Linked DNA regions of Homo sapiens: regions 1 and 2 are each linked to region 3. The links are contacts of gene promoters, found by promoter capture Hi-C in blood cells and fetal thymus (Javierre and others, 2016). All regions are on one chromosome and are shown on one strand. The core of a region is centred on a gene start or on the middle of the fragment in contact, and the rest is flanking DNA. Distances in the headings are between cores, read along the strand shown. Region 1 overlaps ASXL2 (ASXL transcriptional regulator 2). Region 2 holds the start of GAREM2 (GRB2 associated regulator of MAPK1 subtype 2). Region 3 holds the start of RAB10 (RAB10, member RAS oncogene family).

Region 1 (2,700 bases), core at 146-2,645, 180 kb after region 3:
AAGTTCCGTAACCCGAAGGCCAAGTGAGAAGCTGGAGACTCCAGGACTCCACTGGACAGACCCAGGTCTTCCAGACCTGCTTCCTGAAATAAACACTGGTGTCAAAAAAAAAAAAAAAAAAAAAGTATAGGCCAGGTGAGCAGTGGCTCATGCCTGTAATCCCAGCACTTTGGGAGGCTGAGGTGGGCGGATCACCTGAGGTTAGGAGTTTGAGACCAGCCTGGCCGACATGGTGAAACCCCATCTCTAATAAAAATACAAAAATTAGCTGGGCATGGTGGTACAGGCCTGTAGTCCCAGCTACTTGGGAGGCTGAGGCAGGAGAATTGCTTGAACCCAGGAGGCGGAGGTTGCAGTGACCCGAGATTGCACTGCTGCACTCCAGCCTGGCGACAAAGTGAGACTCCGTCTCAAAAAACAAAAAACAAAAATTAGGTATGGTGGTGCATGCCTGTAATCCCAGCTACTCGGGAGGCTGAGGTCAGAGAATTGCTTGAACCCGGGAGACGGAGGCTGTGGTGAGCTGAGATCACGCCACTGCACTGCAGCCTGGCCGACAGAGCGAGACTCTGTCTCTAAATAAATAAATAAATAAATAAATAAATGCATTATCAAGATTGTGTTTCTGTCTCTCTCTCTTTTTTTTTTTTTTGAGACGGAGTCTCGCTCTGTCGCCCAGGCTGGAGTGCAGTGGCACGATCTCGGCTCACTGCAACCTCTGCCTCCCGGGATCAAGCAGTCCACTCAGCCTCTTGAGTAGCTGGGACCACAGGTGTGTGCCAGCATGCTCGGCTAATTTTTATATTTTTATTTATTTATTTGAGACAAGAGTCTCACTCTGTCGCCCAGCCTGGAGTGCAGTGGCATGATCTCAGCTCACTGCAACCTCCACCTCCTGGGTTCAAGTGATTCTCCTGCCTCAGCTTCCCAAGTTGAGATTACAGGCATGCACCACCACACCCAGCTCATTTTTGTGTTTTTAGCAGAGACGGGGTTTTGGCATGTTGGCCAGGCTAGTCTCAAACTCCTGACCTCAGGGAATCTGCCCGCCTTGGCCTTCCAAAGTGCTGAGATTACAGGCATGAGCTTAATTTTTATATTTTTAGTAGGGATAGAGTTTCACCATGTTTCCCAGGCTGGTCTCTAACTCCTGGGCTCAAAGCAATCCACCCACCTCGGCCTCCCAAGAAGTGCTGGGATTACAGATGTGAGCCACTGCGCCTGGCCTGTTACCAAGTTACTATCTATAAAGGTGTATCATTTTACCCTCTCCACTGTTTAGTGTGTATGTGCCTGTCTGATTCAACTCTTGAAGAATTTAATATTACCAGTTTAAAAATCTTTGCTATTTTGTTGAGTGATAGATAAACTTTGAGGTATCTGTCAAAAGGAGTAGGGAAGGTATGTCATATACAGAGCAGCATGAGCGAAGGTGGCATGCTGGCAGTGTGTGAGCGGCACTGTCTGCCAGAGCTGAGGAGGTTCTTGAGGGATATGTGTGTTGCAGGACACTGAAAGTTTCTATTTGGATGTGTTTCTTAATGGCTTGTGCTCTACAGTAAGCCTGTTCTTGACATCAGCTCCTCAAGACAGACACTGGCAGCAGTCTCTTAAAATGGCTTACTATAGAGGATGAGTGGAATAGGTCATAGTCTCTGCTGCAGTAGCTGGTTCCAAGGCCGTATTAATATTCATCATCTCCTTCTGCCACTGCCTAGTCTAGATTTCCGTCACTCATGGCCAGACTGCAGCTGATCAAGGTTGCTTGCCTGAAGCCATCATTCCTGAGGAGTCTAAGCCCCTATTTCTCTTTTCCATATCATGCCTTTGCCATATGCTGTACTTGCCTTTTATCATTAGATGTGGAAGCACTGAGGAGCACCTACTAGGTTAAGCTACAAATTGCTGTCACCTTCAGAGCCACCGAAGTGGTTGGCTCTTCTTTTTGAGGAATTATAACAGGGTTCTGAGAGTTGGATTCTGCTGATGACAAGTTGGACAACTCAGCAGCAGCAGTGGCTCTTTTCATTAATTAGCTGACAAAACCTTAGGCAAGTTATTTAATTTCTCTGCACTTCAGTTTTCACATCTGAAAAAAAATGGGCTGATAGTATCTACCTCATAGGTTTATTGTAAAGGTTAAATAAGCTAATATATCTAAATCACTTAGAATAGTGCTTGGCAGTTAAATGCTAGATAAGTATTAACTGTTAGTGTTATTAACTCTAAAGAGTTTGAAGAGAGTTTGGTTGAGAGCTTTTTTTCTTGAACTAGGGAGTGTGTATAACCTCCAGACTTTTTGGATAATTAAAAGAATCCAAGCTAGGAAAGACTAAACCCAAGTGACTTGATAGAGCTGTTCAGAATTGAGGGACCCCTAGGTAAACTATGCCCATGAGCTTACAATGTCAGCTTCTGTAATCTTCTCTGTATATCTGTAGGTGCCTCTCTGTATAGGTTTCGTATTTAAGTATTCTCAGCTACTTTTACACTCAAGTTTCTGCGCCCAAATCTGTAAATTTATTTGCATTTTCCCTCACCTTTTATCCTTTTTTAAAAAGAGGCATTTTTACTAGTGTCTGAAGCTAATCTTGCCACATATGTTCCTAATTCCATCAGCCAACCATTAAGTGTTTTAGATCTGTCATATAATAGGCACTAGTAATACTAGATGAATAAGGCTGGGCATGGTGGTTCACA
Region 2 (2,700 bases), core at 54-2,553, 140 kb before region 3:
CCCCAGGGCAGCGACCTCCATTCACAGGCAGACACAGTACCACACTCTGACCACTCGGCCGCGAGCCAGAGAACTAGACGCTGGCCTGCCCGACGGCGGGGCGCCGATGCTCCCCCATGAGCCTGCTCCCGGGACAGCTGACGCCCACTGTGCCCACTCCTGGCCGCCACGGAGGAGGGGCTGCCGGGCCCCACGGGGAGACGAGGAGCCTGCGGCCGCGGGCCCCATTAGCATTCATGGAAGCGAGTGTGCCAACGCGGGCCAAACCCCTATTCTTCTCACACACAAAACCCCCGGCCTGGCTGCCAGCCCCGGCTACCGCCCATCCCCCAACCAAGCAGCACCCCCCTCCCCCCAAACGGTCCCCTCGCTCCATGCAGCCTCCGGGCGTACCCTCTCGGGCCCCCATGCGTGGTTCCATCAGCCGAGCGGCTGGGGGCCCCAGGTCCTATTAAGAAGTGGGACAAGATTCGGGGGAGGGCCGGGAGTTTGGGGGTCACGCCGGGCAGCAGACCCGGCTCCCGCCGGCCTCTCCCGAAGGTGGCCTGCCCGCCCCAGGACCGAGGCTGCTCCTAGGGAAGAGAAAGGAGGTGCAAGAAGGGTCCCCAGAGGGGCGGAGCAGGACTAGGGGTGGCGGTAAGGGGAAGACAGAGTCCGGGTCCCAGGGATGAGGGAAGACAGAGGTGAGAGGCCAGGGACAAAGGGACCAAGGGGGCGCGGCCGGGGCGGGGGGCCCAGGGGCAGCGGGGGAAAGGGGGGCAACCGACGGGGCGGGAGCAGGGGCTCGGCCCCTTTCCGGACTCCAGCTGGGCGGGAAAACTCTGTCCCGGGCCCTGTCCCCGGTGTCTGTGCCTGTGCTTGTCCGCGGGGCCCAGGAGGCGGACCTGGCGGGTGGGCCCCGCGTCTCCCGGGAGGCGCGCCAGGAACCGCTCGGGGCCCACGCCGGGGAGCTGGGAGGGTGCGGGTGCCGCACCCTCCTCACGATCCCTCTGGCCCCTGGCTGGAGAGCCCACCATTTCCCCGCGGACCCCGGTCCCCATCTCCAGCGACCCCGGTACCTGGCCCAAGGCAGGCGAGCGTGGGCAGGCGGCAGCGGCTGACGATGAGGTCGAGCGGGAAGGCGCCCATGCTCCAGCGCAGGCCGGCCAGCCCGGCCGCCAGCTTCTCCATGGCATGGGCGCCCCGGGGCCGCCGTCCCGGGGCCCCGACGGTCAGTCCCGCGCGGCCCAGGCTCTCGCGCCCGCCGCCACCTCCCGGGGCCGCCGCGGCGCTCGCCGCCTGGCAGCCCCGCCGGGCCGCGGGCGTCACGTGGCCGGCCTCCCCGCAGGGCGCCGACCCCGGCCCCGCCCCCGGGCCCCGCCCCCTCCTCCCGGACCCCGGCCCCCTCCTCCCGGACCCCCGCCCCCTGCTCTGTCCGCCCCGACCCGGACTCGCCGCCGGACCCACCCCCGGACCTCCGCCCCCAGCCCTGTCCGCCCTGCCCCGCCCCGGCCCCCTCTCCTCGGACCCCGTCCCCGCGCCCCCTTCTGGGACCCCGGGTCCCCAGCCCCGCGCTCCGTCCGCCCGCCCCTGCCCCCGCTCCCCGGCCCCCACCCGCCGCTGCCGCCAAGCCCCGCCTCCCCTCCCGCCAGCTTCCCCGCGCCCAGGTGACGGCGGGTGATGGAGGACCCCAGGGCGGGCGCCTGGAGGGACAACGAAGTCCCGAGCGGCATCTGCGGAGTCGGCGCGGGGTCGGCCTCCTCCTTCTGGCTGGGTGTGTCCGGGCCCCGCCGCTCCCCCTCGTGCTGGCCTCCCGGAGGCCGCGCCCACCCGCGCCCTGTCCTGCTCCGCCGCCCAAAGCTCGGGTTCTGAATTCTGCTCTTCCAGGACCTTCATCACCTCCGGCTCCGTGGAGCTGGGCGAGGCAGCCTCCTTAACCCCATTTTACTGATGAGCAAACTGAGGGGCAGAGGTCAGGTGGCAGCCAGGACTTCAACCTAGGTTGGACTTCAACCCAGATTTGACTCCAACCCTACTGCCCAAGAGCACCCTACAGCGCCCCACCATAGAGCACCTTCCACGTTCCCAGCGCCCCCTTAGCCGATAGCCCTGTGTCATGTAAACCGGCGCTCCAACCCTTCCACAGCACGCGGTGTGGACTGCGTCCATTCTGCAGATGAGGAGGCCGAGGTTCGAGGGCGTAACCGGTGCTGCGGTCTCCTCTCGGATCATTACAAGAACCGCCTTCCTCCCCCACCGCCACCATCCCTTCTCTCTTTTCCTTCTCTTTTTTTGAGACTGGGTCTCACTCTATCACCCAGCCTGGAGTGCAGTGGCGCGATCTCGGCTCACTGCAACCCCCACCTCCCGGGCTCAAGCGATCCTCCCACCTCAGCCTGCGGAGTAGCTGGGATGACAGGCACCTGCCACCACTCCTGGCTAATTTTTTTGTATTTTTAGTAGAGACGGCGTTTCACCATGTTGGCCAGGCTGGTCTTGAACTCCTGACCTCAAGCGATCCTCCCGACTCGGCCTCCCAAAGTGCTGGACTTACAGGCGTAAGCCACCGCGCCCAGCCTTCGTTCCCTTCTTTTAATTTGCGTTTCCTTTTCTGCTGTCCTCACCTCTTCCTTCCAAGCCCCCTGGACTCCAGCTCGGGGCCTCCCTTTGGGACCCCCTTCCCAGAAGCTTAGATGGCCTCGGCCTCGGCCTCGCCCTCTC
Region 3 (2,700 bases), core at 200-2,699:
GTCACTCTTTAGCTCTTACTTCCACACTAAGTAATTCTGAAACATGGTGAAAGTGCATTATAAGTCCATAGGGCTATGACTGGCAAAATACTTTCCTGTAAATACTAGAGTCAAATAAAATAGAAGAGAGAGCTTGACTTCACTCCGTTGGGTTTGAGGACAGAAACTGATCATCTCCCTCAGATTACTGCTTCTGTTGATGTCTCGAAAAGCACTGAGGCAAATATGCCAGAGTCCCACCCCAAGCGCGAAGAGCCTCCGATTGTTTGACACATCAATGGATTAGTGAATGAGGGCAACTCACTCTTCCCTTCTAATTTACCTTAATTATTCTTCTCAGAAACCCTCAAGTTTACTCTAAGTTATCACCATATGGAATCTTTTCTTTGCCCCAAAGTATAAATTCAGGCCTTTCCCAAATAGCTAGTACTGCTTCAATCGCAACCACTGAAATAAATACCTTAAAAATATCACACATCTACTAATTCCACGCAAATGTGGAAAAAGCCAGTCCAGTCGCCTGAAGAAATAAGGTTCTGGAACATGGTTAAATGATGCATATTTTGTAACAGAAGGCACTGAGCATAGTGGGAGACTCGAAAGCAAAAGACCGGATGGAAATCATGGGAAGACCCCGCCCCAGTAAGCTCGATGCCGATTCAAACAGTAACTTGGATGTGTCGTTTGGAATCGGAATCACTGAAACAAAGGCGTATATTACGGGAAGCAAGATGTCTGGAGTAAAATAAACGGTATGCAGCTACCGAGACCGTACACCGTCCTCCCACAGGTCTTACCTATGGTGGAAATAAAGGTAGTATTGAAGGCATCATCCGAAAAACGAAAAAGGACGCAGGTCTTCCCCACTCCGGAATCCCCGATCAGGAGCAGCTTGAAAAGCAGGTCGTACGTCTTCTTCGCCATTGGGAGGAGCGGCTCGGGCTCTCGCCGCCGGCGGCCCCAAGGGATCGGTCCCTCTCACTACGGCCAACTCCTCACTCGGGCGTTCTCAGGCCGGAGGACCGGGGAAGCGTGGGAAAAAGGCTCGAGACGGCGCGGGCGACCTACGAACAGCTTTGAGGAAGCCCCGACAGTGGCGGCGTCCAGTGCCTCCGAGGGCGGCGACCGCGGCTCCGCAGCCTCTCCCAGCCCGTCCGCCCGGTTCCGGGGAGTCGGTCGGGACAAAATGGCCTCCCCTCCCCCCTCAGGGCTTCTCGGCCGGGACGCTCCCACGGGCGAGCAAGCCTGCTCTGCCGTCGAGGAGGCGCAGCGGGCGTGAGGACAGTCTCTCTCCCGAGCGGAAACTCCCTGCTAGCACGCGGCGAGGGCAGCGAAGAAGGACCCCTAAGTCGACGAGCTCAGTTACATAGCCCCAGGAAACCGAGCCACCCCGGCCAGAGCCACCTTTTCCCCGTGCCCTCTCACGCCGGCGTGCGCGCTGCCTGAGACGCACGCAAGGGCGTACGCCCGCCCTTCCCTCACGCCCTAGCCTTGCGGTCCGCCTCTGCGCACGCGCACAAGAGGGCATGGGGGCGCGCCGAAGTGGCGAGTGGAATGCTCCTGTCTCCAAGCCTCAGTCTGAGGCTGGACCCAGAGGGGAGAAGGGAGGGGCGAGAAAGGGCGAGGCCGCGGGCGCGCTCCCTGTGGCCGCCTGATAGGGTGCGCGGCGTTACGAGCACGCCCCGGGGGAGACGCTACCTAGCGACTGCGCAGGCGCAGCGCCCCCCCTCCGACCCCCGCCTCCCGCCTCCCGCTCCCCGCTCCCCGGGACACCCTTACAGAGCCCAGCACCTCCTTCCCCTCCCGGGGTCTCCCGCTGGACTGCGCTGCGGTTTCTCTGCACAGCGCTTGTCGGGTGTGTTGAGCTGGAGGTCTTGGCGCAGCGACGGGCTTGGGTGGCCATGTGTTCCCGTGTAGGTGGAGCTCGTAAACGCGAGAAAAAGCCGCGCCCTGGGTCATTTAATAGCCTCTTTGCTAGAACGAGACGCCTCCCGGCGTGCCCCCTCTCCAGGGCCAGCCCTGACGGGGAAACATGAGCGCTCCATCCGGATTGACTTCAAGAGCAAGAGTTTGAGATGGAAAAGCTGGCCACGCCGCTCGGGTTGGGATGAGGTAATCCTCACAACCTCTTCCTGGGCGAGGAGAGGAAGGTTGAGGAACACCTGGGCGCAGGAAGAACCTCCCTGCGAAGTGGAGGGTTCTGTGCGGTGCTCAGAGAACCTGCTTCAGGCCTTTGCCGTCCTTCAGGAATCCGGGAGAACCCGAGAGCGCTCTGCAGAGGAGGTGGGGCCTCTGCCTGCCGCCAGCGTCGTACCACTGGGTTGAAAATTGAAAGGTGGTCAAGCCTACTCCCAGTCCGACACAGCCTGCTTCCTCGCATTTTCTTTTTCTTTTTTTCTTTTCTTTCTTTTTTTTTTTTTTTTTTTTGAGATGGAGTTTCGCTCGTTTCCTCGCATTTTCTTTTTCTTTTTTTCTTTTCTTTCTTTTTTTTTTTTTTTTTGAGATGGAGTTTCGCTCTTGTTGCCCAGGCTAGAGTGCAATGGCACAATCTCTGCTCACTGCAACCTCCACCACCTGGGTTCAAGTGATTCTCCTGCCTCGGCCTCCCAAGTAGCTGGGATTACAGGCATGTGCTACCACGCCCGGCTAATTTTTTGTATTTAGTAGAGACGGGGTTTCACCCTGTTAGTCAGGCTGGTG

The links. Contacts are between HindIII fragments. The CHiCAGO score rates a contact against its expected background, and 5 or more counts as called.
Region 1: a contact is called between a fragment that was not itself captured here and the fragment with the promoter of RAB10 in region 3, in 1 of 17 cell types (megakaryocytes). The highest score is 6.0, in megakaryocytes.
Region 2: the fragment with the promoter of GAREM2 here is called in contact with the fragment with the promoter of RAB10 in region 3 in 11 of 17 cell types (activated CD4 T cells, naive CD8 T cells, naive CD4 T cells and 8 more); the score reaches 8.9 in activated CD4 T cells.

The regions. Positions count from the first base shown.
Region 1 is chr2:25,853,788-25,856,487 of GRCh38, reverse strand. All of the region lies in intron 1 of ASXL2 (ASXL transcriptional regulator 2), which reads left to right. Among named protein-coding and RNA genes, the nearest start is that of ASXL2, 23 kb to the left of the region's middle. The HindIII fragment of the contact is 5,052 bases long and covers 1-2,700 here.
Region 2 is chr2:26,171,691-26,174,390 of GRCh38, reverse strand. GAREM2 (GRB2 associated regulator of MAPK1 subtype 2) reads right to left here and starts at 1,303. Exons shown (of 6, transcript NM_001168241.2): 1 at 1,059-1,303. The coding sequence starts at 1,170. The HindIII fragment of the contact is 3,276 bases long and covers 1-2,669 here.
Region 3 is chr2:26,032,833-26,035,532 of GRCh38, reverse strand. RAB10 (RAB10, member RAS oncogene family) reads right to left here and starts at 1,449. Exons shown (of 6, transcript NM_016131.5): 1 at 798-1,449. The coding sequence starts at 924. LOC124907743 (a long non-coding RNA gene) reads left to right here and starts at 1,784. Exons shown (of 2, transcript XR_007086249.1): 1 at 1,784-1,855. RefSeq lists an enhancer at 1,194-1,243 and a silencer at 1,554-1,783. The HindIII fragment of the contact is 14,591 bases long and covers 1-2,700 here.